4 separate regions of the Homo sapiens genome follow, and all the other regions are linked to region 3. Evidence: promoter capture Hi-C in 16 types of primary human blood cells and fetal thymus (Javierre and others, 2016). All regions are on one chromosome and are shown on one strand. The core of a region is centred on a gene start or on the middle of the fragment in contact, and the rest is flanking DNA. Distances in the headings are between cores, read along the strand shown. Region 1 overlaps RABEP1 (rabaptin, RAB GTPase binding effector protein 1). Region 2 overlaps RABEP1 (rabaptin, RAB GTPase binding effector protein 1). Region 3 holds the start of ZFP3 (ZFP3 zinc finger protein). Region 4 overlaps RABEP1 (rabaptin, RAB GTPase binding effector protein 1).

What was found. Contacts are between HindIII fragments. The CHiCAGO score rates a contact against its expected background, and 5 or more counts as called.
Region 1: a contact is called between a fragment that was not itself captured here and the fragment with the promoter of ZFP3 in region 3, in 2 of 17 cell types (naive B cells and total B cells). The highest score is 8.3, in naive B cells.
Region 2: a fragment that was not itself captured here is called in contact with the fragment with the promoter of ZFP3 in region 3 in 2 of 17 cell types (naive B cells and total B cells); the score reaches 5.5 in naive B cells.
Region 4: a fragment that was not itself captured here is called in contact with the fragment with the promoter of ZFP3 in region 3 in 1 of 17 cell types (total B cells); the score reaches 5.4 in total B cells.

The regions. Positions count from the first base shown.
Region 1 is chr17:5,307,875-5,311,264 of GRCh38, forward strand. RABEP1 (rabaptin, RAB GTPase binding effector protein 1) reads left to right here. Exons shown (of 18, transcript NM_004703.6): 2 at 820-948. Among named protein-coding and RNA genes, the nearest start is that of RABEP1, 27 kb to the left of the region's middle. The HindIII fragment of the contact is 1,710 bases long and covers 708-2,417 here.
Region 2 is chr17:5,329,380-5,332,715 of GRCh38, forward strand. RABEP1 (rabaptin, RAB GTPase binding effector protein 1) reads left to right here. Exons shown (of 18, transcript NM_004703.6): 3 at 2,570-2,773. Among named protein-coding and RNA genes, the nearest start is that of RABEP1, 49 kb to the left of the region's middle. The HindIII fragment of the contact is 8,927 bases long and covers 1-3,336 here.
Region 3 is chr17:5,076,408-5,079,725 of GRCh38, forward strand. It overlaps ZFP3 (ZFP3 zinc finger protein), which reads left to right and starts at 2,060. Exons shown (of 2, transcript NM_153018.3): 1 at 2,060-2,168. It overlaps ZFP3-DT (ZFP3 divergent transcript), which reads right to left and starts at 1,706. Exons shown (of 2, transcript NR_186458.1): 1 at 1,480-1,706. RefSeq lists enhancers at 1,528-2,399, 1,767-1,836. The HindIII fragment of the contact is 11,376 bases long and covers 1,395-3,318 here.
Region 4 is chr17:5,287,287-5,290,449 of GRCh38, forward strand. All of the region lies in intron 1 of RABEP1 (rabaptin, RAB GTPase binding effector protein 1), which reads left to right. Among named protein-coding and RNA genes, the nearest start is that of RABEP1, 6.6 kb to the left of the region's middle. The HindIII fragment of the contact is 1,406 bases long and covers 701-2,106 here.

The DNA.
Region 1 (3,390 bases), core at 313-2,812, 230 kb after region 3:
TATGAATGGGTTTTTGATTATGATCTCAGTATAATGGTAATGGATCATTTTGAAGTTGGAAGAATAGTTCAGTCTGGTATGGCTACACTAGTTAGGGAACCTATTAGATTTTGCTTGTGACACTTGAGAGAAATGGGAAATAGCAAGATTGGCAGTAGGTTCATTTGTGGGATAAGTAGTTCAAATAATCCAATATTTAACAGTTCTAAAATTAAATTGCTATTCAGTTGCACAAAGGCACTTTAGAAGCTCTTTTTTTTGTGGGGAAGTTGGCCTTATGTGATTCTCTGTATATTTGTGGTTTCACTTTACATGACTCATTTACAGTTGTGTATTAAGTCTAATACAAGGATCTTTTTTTTTTTTTTTGAGACAGAGTCTCACTCTGTCACCCAGGCTAGAGTGCAGTGGTGCGATCTCGGCCCACTGCAACCTCCGCCTCCCGGGTTCAAGCGATTCTCCTGCCTCAGCCTCCTGAGTAGCTGGGATTACAGGCACCTGCCACTACACCTGGCTAATTTTTGTATTTTTAATAGAGATGGGATTTCTCCATGTCGGCCAGGCTGGTCTCGAACTCCTGACCTCGGGTGATCCGCCCGCCTCGGCCTCCCAAAGTGCTGGGATTACAGGCGTGAGCCACCATGCCTGGTCTGTCTTACTTTTTTTAAACATTAGAATATCCTAGCATATGGTGGATTTTTGGAAGAAGCTTGACTACTTGTTTCACGTATAGCAATGTACAGCTAGAATACTAATTTACTGTTTTATAAATTTATGAATAAAAGTTATTACTTGTTAACTAGTGTTTTTTTCCCCCAGTTTCTCTTCAGCAACGGGTAGCAGAATTGGAAAAAATTAATGCAGAATTTTTACGTGCACAACAGCAGCTTGAACAAGAATTTAATCAAAAGAGAGCAAAATTTAAGGAGTTATATTTGGCTAAAGAGGGTAAGTTCATAAGTCTCGCACCAACTTCAATGCGAAAACTGCCTTAAAGTGTTGAGTTTCTTGGTAGTAGTGTTAATTTTATCATTGAATAAACCTTGATTTTATTTGTACTTGCATAATAAAAGAATACTGTTTAAAGGCTAGGTTAAGAATGGGATTGAAAAACAAGTTGAAAAATGCCTTCTTCAGATTTTGCCTTGTTTTTTGATCTTACTGTTCATATTTAGGTTGCATAGCCTTGAGATAAGAGAATGTTATTGCTCTTAACATTTGGGATACAGTTGTGGGCAAACTAGGATTGTTGGCATTCTAATAACAGCTTTAGCTATGTTATCTTTAATTCCATGAAACATCAGTTTTACCCAACAAATATTCAGTTATTTATCAATAAATATTTATTTAATATCTACTATGAGGCAGACATTATACTTGTGTTGGGTATACAGAAAGAGGAAAATTCATGTGGTTCTTTAACTTGGTTGAACTCAATGAGCAAAACAGATGTTAAGTAATTGTGTGATGAGTCGTTAAAACAGGAAATTGCAGGCTGGGCGCGGTGGCTCACACCTGTAATCCCAGCACTTTGGGAGGCCAACGGGCGGGGGCGGATCACCTGAGGTCGGGAGTTCAAGTCCAGCCTGGCCAACATGGAGAAACCCTGTCTGTACTAAAAATACAAAATTAGCTGGGCATGGTGGCGCATGCCTGTAATCCCAGCTGCTCGGGAGGCTGAGGCAGAAGAATTGCTTGAACCCAGGAGGCAGACGTTGAGGTGAGCTGAGATTGCGCCATTGCACTCCAGCGTGGGCGACAAGAGTGAAACTCCCATCTCAAAAAAAAAAAAAAAAGAAAAAGAAACTGTATAAGGAAAATACATGAGAGAACATGTTGGGGGACCTGATTTGAAGGATCAGGGAAGGGGCTTACCTTCTGAGTATCGACCTAGAATAATGTGAATGTAGTTTCCACAGCTCTCTAGACCAGTGATTCTCAAAGTGTGATTGTGGAACAGCATCATTATCGTCATCATCACCTGGGAAAGTTGTTAGAAATGCAAATGTTTGGGTCCCACCCAGATTTACTGAGTTAGAAACTGTGGGATTTGGGTCCAGCTGCACACTAAATTTTGAAAACTGCTCTAGTCTATAATAGAATAGTGGCTCTCAAATTCAAATGTGGATAAAAATCACCTGGAGAGCTTGTTAAACCACAGTATGTTTGGGTGGAGCCCAGAAATTTGCATTTCTAATAAGCTCATAGATGATTCCAGTTACTGCTAGTTCAAGTACTACAGTTTGAAAAATCCTGTTCTGGACTAGTGATCATGCACCTTTTTTAACTTATGAACTCTGTAAAATATATACTTACATACAACCTTCATACATGTTAAAGTTGATGTTTAAAATTTTTTGCTTGAAAAGATGTGAAGGATAAAATTTTATATTGTTGATATTTACAATTTAAATGAAAGCTTCGTCCTTTTTTTTTTTTTTTTTTGAGATGGGAGTCTCCCCCGACATCTTCCCCTGTCACGCAGGCTGGAGTTCAGTGGCACTATCTCAGCTCACTACAACCTCCGCCTCCCATATTCAAGTGATTCTCCTGCCCTGCCCCAGCCTCCCGAGTAGCTGGGATTACAGGTGTGTGCCACCATGCCCGGCTAATTTTTGTATTTTTAGTAGAGACGGGGTTTCACCATGTTGGTCAGGCTGGTCTCAAACTCCTGACCTTGTGATCCGCCCGCTTCGGCCTCCCAAAGTGCTGGGTGAGCCACCACGCCTGGCCAACTTCCTGCTTTTAAACATATCCAGTGGAATGAAAATATCAGTGATTTATCCATTGTTATCTGTTTAACAAACACATGAATAGCTTTATAGCCGAAATTTTACAGTGGTTTTCCTCCTTGCGTTGGGTTTTCTTCTTTACATCTCCTTTAGAATTTTTTTCTTAAAAATGGTTTTGAAACTTGAGTGTGCATTTGTTTCATTCATTTTTTTTTTTTTTTGAGACCGAGTCTCGCTGTGTTGTCCAGGCTGAAGTGCAGTGGTGTGATCTTGGCTCACTGCAACCTCCGCCTCCTGGGTTCAAGCGACTCTTGTGCCTTAGCCTCCCTAGTAGCTGGGGCTACAGGTGTGTGCCACCACGCCCTGCTAATTTTTGTATTTCTAGTAGAGACGGGGTCTCACCATGTTGGCCAGGCTGGTCTCGAACTCCTGACCTCAGATGATCCGCCTGCCTCGGCCTCCCAGAGTGCTGGGATTACAGGCGTGAGCCACCACAATGGGCTTGCGTGTGCATTTGAATTACCTAATAGGGTTCGTTAAAACAAGGATTACTGGCTTCCCCCCTCAGAGACGCTGACTCACTAGGGCACTGGGATCCAGAGTTTGTGTTTTTAGCAAGTTACCAGTTGGCGGAGATGTTACTGTTCAGAGACCATAC
Region 2 (3,336 bases), core at 1-2,500, 250 kb after region 3:
AATTAGCTGGGCGTGGTGGCACGCGCCTGTAATCCCAGCTACTTGGGAGGCTGAAGCAGGACAATCTGTTGAACCCGGGAGGCAGAGGTTGCAGTGAGCCAAGATCGTGCCACTGCACTCTAGCCTGGGCAACAAGAGCGAGACTCCGTCTCAAAAAAATAAATAAGCATGGCAAATCTTAATACCTTTTGAGTCTTGGTGAAAGCTATATGAAGGATTGTTGTAGTATACCCTCAACTTTTGAATATGTTTGAAAATCTTAATAATTACATATACAGCAGTAAAAGCAATAAACGAATGTTAGAACTCCTACTGTTGGCAAACATAATGTTTGAAATGCTTTACTACAAAAAATTAAGATTTTCTAACTTTATTTTAAATTTCTGTCTCCTGTTTTTTTGTATTTATATATATAAATATAACATTCATATATATGTTCATATATATATATATATATATATATATAACTAAAGTTACTGTTGACCAAGTCTTCCTCCAGGCTCTCTATTTCACTTTTAAGTGCCAAAAATGGATATTTAGGCTTGGTATTTGTTTACAGTTTTTCTGTTCATAATGACAACATGGTAGTGAATAGCTCTGGGTAATCTCCAGCAAATCAAAAGTACCAGAGGTAATTAGCATGAGGACCTGTTAAGTGTATAAACTTGAGCCTTGATAAAATTGTAGTACCCAAAAATGAATAAAGTATCCCAGAAATAATGCTTTTTCTTTTTTCACATTTTATGAAACAGTTTAACACTCAGAATACAGAGTTGACACACATAAACTTTTCCTTTGTGGTTTCACGTGTTTACATCTTTCTGGGTCTGTCTATTTGCATGCCTACCACAACTTCCCAGGTGTCTGTCTTTAAGGGACTTCACACAATTACTTTTTTAATTAATGTTCTTAAAACTGTCTTTGGCTAGAGATTCAAAATATTTTAAGAGTGATGGAAACTGATGTTGAGAGAGTAAAGATTTCAAAACAACTTAGCATGACTAGGTGTTTCCCTCTGTGACTTTGACTACCAAATCATTAACTCCTGTGATAACAATGAACATTTCACAACGTTTAAAAGTTCTCTTATTTTACTATTGGATTTTTATAAGTAGTTAGAAATTTATGCAAGAAAGTATTGCCACTGTCTTCATGAGGAAACTGAGGCTTGAGAATCTTGTGATTTCCTTAAAGTCATACAGCTGGTTAGCGGTAGAATTAGACCTTAAATCAGTTTATTTTCATGGTCAGTTTGGCTCAGTTATTGTGCTTTGGAGAGGAAATTGATACTTTTACAAAGATGAAGAATTTTTTTTTTCATAAATACCTTACAACTTTAGATGCTAAAAGGCGTAAGTTAAGGCCGGGCGCGGTGGCTCACACCTGTAATCCCAACGCTTTGGGAGGCTGAGGCGGGAGGATCATTTCAGCCCAGGAGGCCAAGACCAGCCTGGGCAGCGTAGTGAAACTTTGTCTCTACAAGAAATTTCAAAAATTAGCCGGGCGTGATGGTGCATGCCTGCAGTCCTAGCTACTCAGGAGGCTGAGGTGGGGGGATCGCTTGAGCCCAGGAATTTGAGGTTATAGTGGTCTATGTTTGCGTCACTGCACTCCAGCCTGTGCGACAATTGAGACCCTATCTCTTAACTTTTTTTTTTTTTTTTTTTTTTTTTTTTAAAGAAACACAGCGGCTGACTGGGAAAAGTTTTGTAAGAGAAGACAGACTTAATATCCAGAATATATAAAATGCTCTTACAGATCAGAAGGAAAATCATTCATTAGAAGCAAATGTAAAGAATGTCACCAAAGAGGAAATGAGTCACTAGTACATATATGAGAAGATGCTCAAACTCCTTATTAACAGGGAAAATGTAGATTAAAGTGACCATTTGCTACCCATGATATTTACAAGAATTTTTAAAAGATGGAAAATAGTGACTGTTGTTAAGGGTATGGGAAAACAATCACACATCCCTGTATACTGTTGATAAGTTCATCTTTTTTTTGAAGTTAGTTTGGCCAAACATATGTTCTGCCTGGGCTTAAACCATGTAGTAGGCACATTACATCAACTTAGTATTTAAAAGATGGTAAGAGGGAGCCGAGAAATTAATGCTAACTTTAAAGAACATACGTCTAGTCACTGCCATGTGCTCTGGCTTTCTTTTCTCTTTTATTAAACATTTTTTGAATGTTTGTGGAAGGTAATGTACTAATTAGCGTTTCCAATAAATTATCATTACAACAACCTTGTGAGGTGGCTGTTTTTAACTTCCATTTTGCAGATGTGGAAACTTAGGCCAGAGAGATTAAATAACATGACCAAGTTCATTTAGTCAGCAGACGGGAATGCGTAAATTGAGCTCTAAAACCATGACTGTAACTACTGGATCATTAGATAGATAGTAACAATTGATTTGTGATACCCAGCTTACCTTAAATCTCACCTCTATTAAAAGGGTGTCATTTTGTATGTTTATATTTTAAAATTTAATACCTTATTTCTTTATTGGAATGCCAGTCTGATCAAAGTGAACATTAATGGACTATCTTTTACTTTTCTCTCCAGAGGATCTGAAGAGGCAAAATGCAGTATTACAAGCTGCACAAGATGATTTGGGACACCTTCGAACCCAGCTGTGGGAAGCTCAAGCAGAGATGGAGAATATTAAGGCGATTGCCACAGTCTCTGAGAACACCAAGCAAGAAGCTATAGATGAAGTGAAAAGACAGTGGAGAGAAGAAGTTGCTTCACTTCAGGCTGTTATGAAAGGTAAAGACAGAGAAAGATCAATTTTGTGATTTTCTAAGATATCCGATTCTGATGATTGAGAATATTTTCAGAGAATCTTAAAATATATACAGAGTTTCATTTGTGGTTTTATGTACTGTCATCATCAAGATATACTTTCAGATAAAAGAGAAGTCACTAATAACATAAATGGATATATCAATCGTATCTAACTTAATAATGGAGAGTTATAATAGGGATGTTATAGAGATAATGCATTAAATGAGGACTATAGTTCATTGTAAGGCTTAAAAGTCGATTTCTTCTAGGAGGCAGGCTAGTAATCTCAAATAATTAAGCTGTATGGGCACAGGGAATGTGCTGGAGTAGAGAGAGCTGCCATGCAAAGGGTAAAGTAACTGTTTACATTGATGAGCTTCAGCTAATTATTGCCCTTCCAGTGTAGTTTGGCCATACGTTTTAGAATTTTTTTTTTTTTTTTTTTTTGAGATGGAATCTCGCTCTGTTGTCCAGCTTGGAGTGCAGTGGCGCAGTCTCAGCTCACTGTACTCGCTGCAACCTCTGCCTCCCGGGCTCAAGCGATT
Region 3 (3,318 bases), core at 810-3,309:
ATTGGCCAGGCTGGTCTCGAACTCCTGACCTTGTGATCCTCCCGCCTTCGCCTCCCAAAGTGCTGGGATTACAGGTGTGAGCCACCGCACCTGGCCCTAATTTTTGTACTTTTAATAGAGATGGGTTTCACCATTTTGGCCAGGCTGGTTTCGAACTCCTGACCTTGTGATCTGTCTGCCTCAGCCTCCCAAAGTACTGGGATCACATGCATGAGCCACCACGCCCGGCCGGAAAATAGATATTCTGATTGAATCAGAGTTAACAAACTTCCCATGCAGTTGCAGACAGTAGGGCAAGGGAGTTAAGGATTTTAGTACCAGAGTGGCTAAAGTGATGGACCCTAGAGTCTAGGGCCTAATGGCAATGATGAATTCAAGAGAAAGTTTTCTTTCTGCTAGATTGTGTGTGGCATACAAACACAATATTCCCTTCTAAGGGTGGTCACTCCTTTCCCTATTTCATAGGATTATGGTGAGGCAAACACAGAAGCCCGCCGTCATCCTTGCGGGAAGGCAGGTGACCAGGCTTGGTAAATCACACGGTCCTTTCCCCCTTGATTGGTCCATGGTTGAGCACCAGACCCAAACAGGGCTAATCATAGTCCTTTGTAACTGATATTTGGGAAGGATAGTGTACTCTGAGGCAACATTATATAGAATGAAAGTCTTCAATGTGGTGATCTTGGAACTGACACCTAAAAACAAACTGGCTGGCTGGACGCGGTAGCTCACGCCTGTAATCCCAGCACTTTGGGAGGCCAAGGTGGGCCTAAGGTCTGACCTAAGGTCAGAAGTTCGAGACCAGCCTGACCAACATGGTGAAACCCCGTCTCTACTAAAAATACAAAAATTAGCCGGGCGTGGTGGCTGGCACTTGTAATCCCAGCTACTCTGGAGGCTGAGGCTGGAGAATCGCTTGAACCCGGGAGGTGGAGGTTGCAGTGAGCAGAGATCGTGCCATTGCACTCCAGCCTTGGCGACAAGAGCGAAACTCCGCCTCAAAAAACAAACAAAAACAAGCTGGAGGCCGGGCGCGGTGGCTCATGTCTGTAATCCCAGCACTTTGGGAGGCCGAGGCGGCCGGATCACCTGAGGTCGGGAGTTCGAGACCAGCCTGACCAAAATGGAGAAAACCCGTCTCTACCTAAAATACAAAATTAGCCGGGCGTGGTGGCACATGCTTGTAATCCCAGTTACTCGGGGAGGCTGAAGTAGGAGAATCGCTTGAATCCGGGAGGCGGAGGTTGCGGTGAGCGGAGATGGCGCCATCGCACTCCAGCCTGGACAACAAGAGCGAAACTCCATCTCAAAAAACAAACAAACAAGAAAACAAGCTGGCTGTGCAAAATTACAGAGGAAGTAACAAGGAAAGGTTCTGAGGTGAGAATGGGCCAAGCTTGCTCAGGGAACCCAGGAAGGCTAGCTGCAGAATGCTGTTTCCGTGGCCTCGGCAGCTTAACCTAGGCCTTTACTCTTAACCTTGGTAATTCCCACGCAATCTTGAGATTTCAGGCCAAACGTCACTCCTGCAAGCCCTTCCGGAACTCAAAGCATGTCTCCCTTCGCTCCCGCCGAGGAGAGACCTGTTCCCAGGATCTGCAGCCCTGTGCTTATCAGACCCACGGAGTCTGTGGAAAGGAAGGATGGGATAAGAACGATGCGGGTTGGGAGAGTTAAAAGGGTCGCGCAAACGGTCCCCGCGGGAATGCGAAGCGGATTCTCGAGTTCTTGAGCCTAGAGCAATGCTTGGGGAGCGACACGAGGGCGCAGAGCGGCAGATCGCGGAGCGGAAGTTCATCCCCGGAGCCGTTCTAGGAAACCCGGAGGACTCAGGTCGTCAATGATTCCGGGGCTGAAGTGGGCATCGACGGGTGCACTTTGCTGTTCCAGGGAGCCGGCTCGGCAGGCGGCGGCGACGTGGAACTTGGGCTAGGGCTAGAACCGGCGAAAAGCAAGCCGGAAAAGGCAAGGGGGCGTCGGTGCGCTGACCACCTGTTCCTCCAGCGGAGTGCGACGCGCGCCGATTGGCTGGAGTGCCGCCCGGGTACCGGAAGTGGCCGATGCCCGTCGCCAGTGACACCGGGACAACAGCTGCGGGCTCTGTGCGAGCGGCCCAGCAGCGCGGAGCCTCAGCGGAGTGAGCGAGCGCGGGGCAGTAGCGGCCTGCGGTGAGACCTCATTCCGTCGCGGCTGTGGGGGTAGGCGGGGGCTGGGCTCCCAGCTCCCTAGAGAGCCGAGCGGAAACCCTACGTTTAGGCCCGTTCTGACCGGGGTTCGCTGTGTGACCTTGAAGTTTATGCCTCCCTCCATTCCCCCCGCCCCCAGGCCTTCATTTCCACCTGCACACAGAGAGGGTGGGGCCTGGACACCGCCAGGGACAGTCCCAGCTCTGGTTTGGTGCCTGTCAGCCGTGGGGGTGGGAGAAGCAGGGACACTCCCTTCTGTACCGAGGTGGGGACCCGTGGGAGCTGTGGTTTTCTCAGACATTCCACCCCCAAGTAAACCGCTAGGACGAAATGGCGGGCAGTGTCACAAACTTAACGCCCTAGTGGCAGATTGTGCCCTGTGCTGCCAGACAAGATATTGGCTTATGAGGGGTGGTCGTGAAAAGGAGACAGGTTTGAGCTGCAAAGATAGAGCCCTATTGTGGGTCAGAGGGAGAAGAGAGGAAAGGAGGTTAACAGTGCCATAAATTAAATATCACCCAGATTGGGAAAAGGAACTTATTTTTACAAACAGTTATCGACACCAGCTATGTGTCAGACACTATCCTAGGCTCTTTAGATATAATGATGAATGAAATATCCAGTTAGCCATCAAGAGTATTACAGAGGCTGGGTGCAGTGGCTCATGCCTGTAATCCCAGCATTTTGGGAGGCCTAGGCGGGAGGATCACTTGAGCACAGGAGTTCAAGACCAGCCTGGGCAACATAGTGAGACACCATCTGTACAAAAAACAAAGAAATTAGTTGGGTAGTTGGGTGTGGTGGCGCATGCTTGTAGTCCCAGCTACTTGGGAGGCTGAGGTGGGAGGATTTTCTTGAGCCTGGGAAGTTGAAGCTGCAGTGAGTCTGGGCAATAGAGCCAAGACCCTGTCTCAGAAAAAAGGGAGGTATTGCAGATTCATTATATATATAAGACAGTTACACAAATTCACTTAACATTTACCAGGTATCTGAAATATGCTAGGTACTCAGAATACCAGGATGAATGGAACAGCATCCTTGCTTATGGTCTAGAGAAGAAAATAGGTATGAAAAATTAATAATGCAGTGGGGTAGCTGCTACAAGGTGAAGGAGTAGCTGTCTGCCTTAGAG
Region 4 (3,163 bases), core at 154-2,653, 210 kb after region 3:
GAGGTGGCTCATGCCTAGAATTGTGCCTGACAAACAGTATACAGGCTCACGCCTGTAATCCCAGCACTTTGGGAGTCTGAGGCAGGTGGATCACCTGAGGTCAGGAGTTCCAGACCAGCCTGGCCAACATGGTGAAACCCAATCTCTACTAAAAATACAAAAATTAGTCAGACATGGTGGCACGCGCCTGTAATCCCAGCTACTTGGGAGGCTGAGGCAGGAGAATTGCTTGAACCTGGGAGGTGGAGGTTGCAGTGGGCGAAGATCATGCCACCGTGCTCCAGCCTGGGCAACAGAGTGAGACTCTGTCGCAAAAAAAAAAAAAAAAAAAAAAAAACCCAAAACACTGAGCGGGCGTGGTGTTGTCTCATACCTGTAATCTCAACACTTTGGGAGGCCTAGGTGGGTGGATTGCTTGAGCCCAGGAGTTTGAGACCAGCCTGGGCAATATGGCAAAACCGCATCTCTACAAAAAATTAGCCGGGTGTGATGGCCTGTGCCTCTAGTCCCAGCTACTCAGGAGGCTGAGGTGGGAGGATCACCTAAGCCTGGGAGGTCGAGGCTGCAGTGAGCTGTGATCTTGCTACTTCACTCCCACCTAGGTGACAGAGTAAGACCCTGTCTCAAAAAAAAAATCACTCTGACTGCTGGATTGGCAGTGGAGTAATAGGGAGGTATGAATCCAGAAAAAAGATGTTGAAGCTTGGACCAGGATGGAGGTTATATTTTGAAAGTATGGCCAACAGGATTTGCTGACGGATTGAATATGGGATGCAAAAGAAACTGAGTAGTCAAGGATTACTCAAAGGTGTTTGGCCTGAGCAACTAGATGAACACAATGCTATGAATGCCTATAACTGACTTATTTGACCAATATACAGAGGTCAGTAAAGGCTTTTGATGAAGTAGTCCTGGAGCCGAGATCTGATGGATGAGCAGGACTCCTGGTTTTGGAGGATGCAGAACGAGTAACATAACTGAAGAAAGGTCACTGTGCCTGGGTAGAGGAGTAGGTATGGGCTGGCCTGAGGGGTCTTTTTCCTTAGAGGTGTACGGGAACCCACTGAAGGGTTTTAAGCAGGTAGATGATGTGTGGCTTTTTATTTTATTTTATTTATTTATTTTTTGAGATGGAATCTCGCTCAGTCGCCCAGGCTAGAGTGCAGTGGCACTATCTCGGCTCACTGGAACCTCTACCTCCCAGGTTCAAGTGATTCTCCTGCCTCAGCCTCCCAAGTAGCTGGGATTACAGGCATGTGCTGCCATGCTCGGCTAATTTTATATTTTTAGTAGAGATGAGGTTTCGCCATGTTCGTCAGGCTGGCCTCTAACTCCTGACCTCAGATGATGCATCCGCCTTGGCCTCCCAAAGTGCTGGGATTACAGGCGTGAGCCACTGCGCCTGGCCTATTTTATTTCTTTTCTTTATTTTTTTGAGACCAAGTCTTGCTGTGTTGCCCAGGCTGGAGTGCAGTGGTGTGATCTCTGCTCACTGTAACCTCTGCCTCCCAGGTTCAGGCGATTCTCGTGCCTCAGCCCCTCAAGTAGCTGGGATTACAGGCGTGCACCACTACACCTGGCTCATTTTTTTGTATATTTAGTAGAGACAGGGTTTCACCATGTTGGCCGGGCTGGTCTTGATCTCCTGTTCTCAATTTATCCACCCTCCTTGGCCTCCCAAAGTGCTGGGATTATAGGAGTGAGCCACTGTGCCTGGTTGAAGTGTGGCTTTTTAATTTGCACTTCCAGGATAGGAATTATATTAATTATGGCCTCTTTGTTTATTGGCTGGCTGGCTTGCTTCCTTCCTTTCATCCATTTTTTTCTTTCTTTCATTTTTTTCTTTTTTTGCTTGCCCTCCCTTCCTCCCTCCCTTTCTTCTTCTTCTTCCTCTTCCTTTTCTCTTCTACTATGAGTTGCTGTTTCACATCTTTCTTTTGTGGCTTGTCTGTTTATATCTGTTTCCCATTTTTCCATTGGGTTGTCCTTTTCTCAGTAATTTGGAGGAGCTCTTTGTAAATTATATTAGCCCTTTGGTATGTGTTGCAAATTTTGGTCTCACAGTTTGTCATTTACCTCGTTTTAAAAATTTTTTGTTATGCAGAAAGCTTTAATTTTTATGTAGATCTGACCTTTTTTTTTTTTTTTTAAATTTATGGTTTCTGGGTTTCTTATTTTGCTGAGGAAGACCTCCCCAACTCTCATGTTTATTTAAAGAGAAAAAACCTTATCATTTTCAACACTTGTGGTTTTTTATATTTTGTAGTCCAATCCATTTGCAATTTATTTATTTTTAAATTAGAGAAGTTTAATATAAAGAATTATTAACTAAACTGGAGATCACCCACTAAGACAAAAGAAAACCCTAAAGAATACAAGACTAGTAGACATAAGGAACAGTCTCGCTTCCAGGGCTGAGGCAGAGCACCCTTTATTTTTTTTTCTGAATAGATAGATAGTTGTCTTAACGTTTATTCAATAGTTCATGTTTTTGTTTGTAAATTATAACTTGGTAAATCTCCCAACCTTTGAACTAGCAGAGATACTTAATCTGAAAAACAAAAGCCCTGCACTTATCCACTGTCTTTGTCACTCTGATATCCCAACACACAGTAGCCTGGAATTAGGTAATGGCCTTTAATTTTCATGTCTTACCTGGCTTTCTGTGGAGAGAATTGCTTTTGAATCTTAAGGGCTCTAATTTCTAAAATATCTCCATTTATCATATGCTAGGTTTTTATCCACTGAAGTTTGATGTTCTCTTCTTATGTAGTCATTAATTTGAATATTGTCTTTATAGAAGTATTTATTTATTTTTTGAGATGGAGTCTCGCTCTGTCGCCCAGGCTAGAGTGCAGTGGCACGATCTCAGCTCACTGCAAGCTCCGCCTCCTGGGTTCACGCCATTCTCCTGCCTCAGCCTCCCAAGTAGTTGGGACTACAGGCGCCCGCCACCACACCCGGCTAATTTTTTTGTATTTTTAGTAGAGACGGGGTTTCACCGTGTTAGCCAGGATGGTCTCGCTCTCCTGACCTCGTGATCCACTCGCCTTGGCCTCCCAAAATGCTGGGATTACAGGCGTGAGCCACCGCGCCCGTCCTCCTTGATTATTCTTAAGTATTTATTCATTCAGAAAAAATTTGGAATGAGTACGTTAAGTGC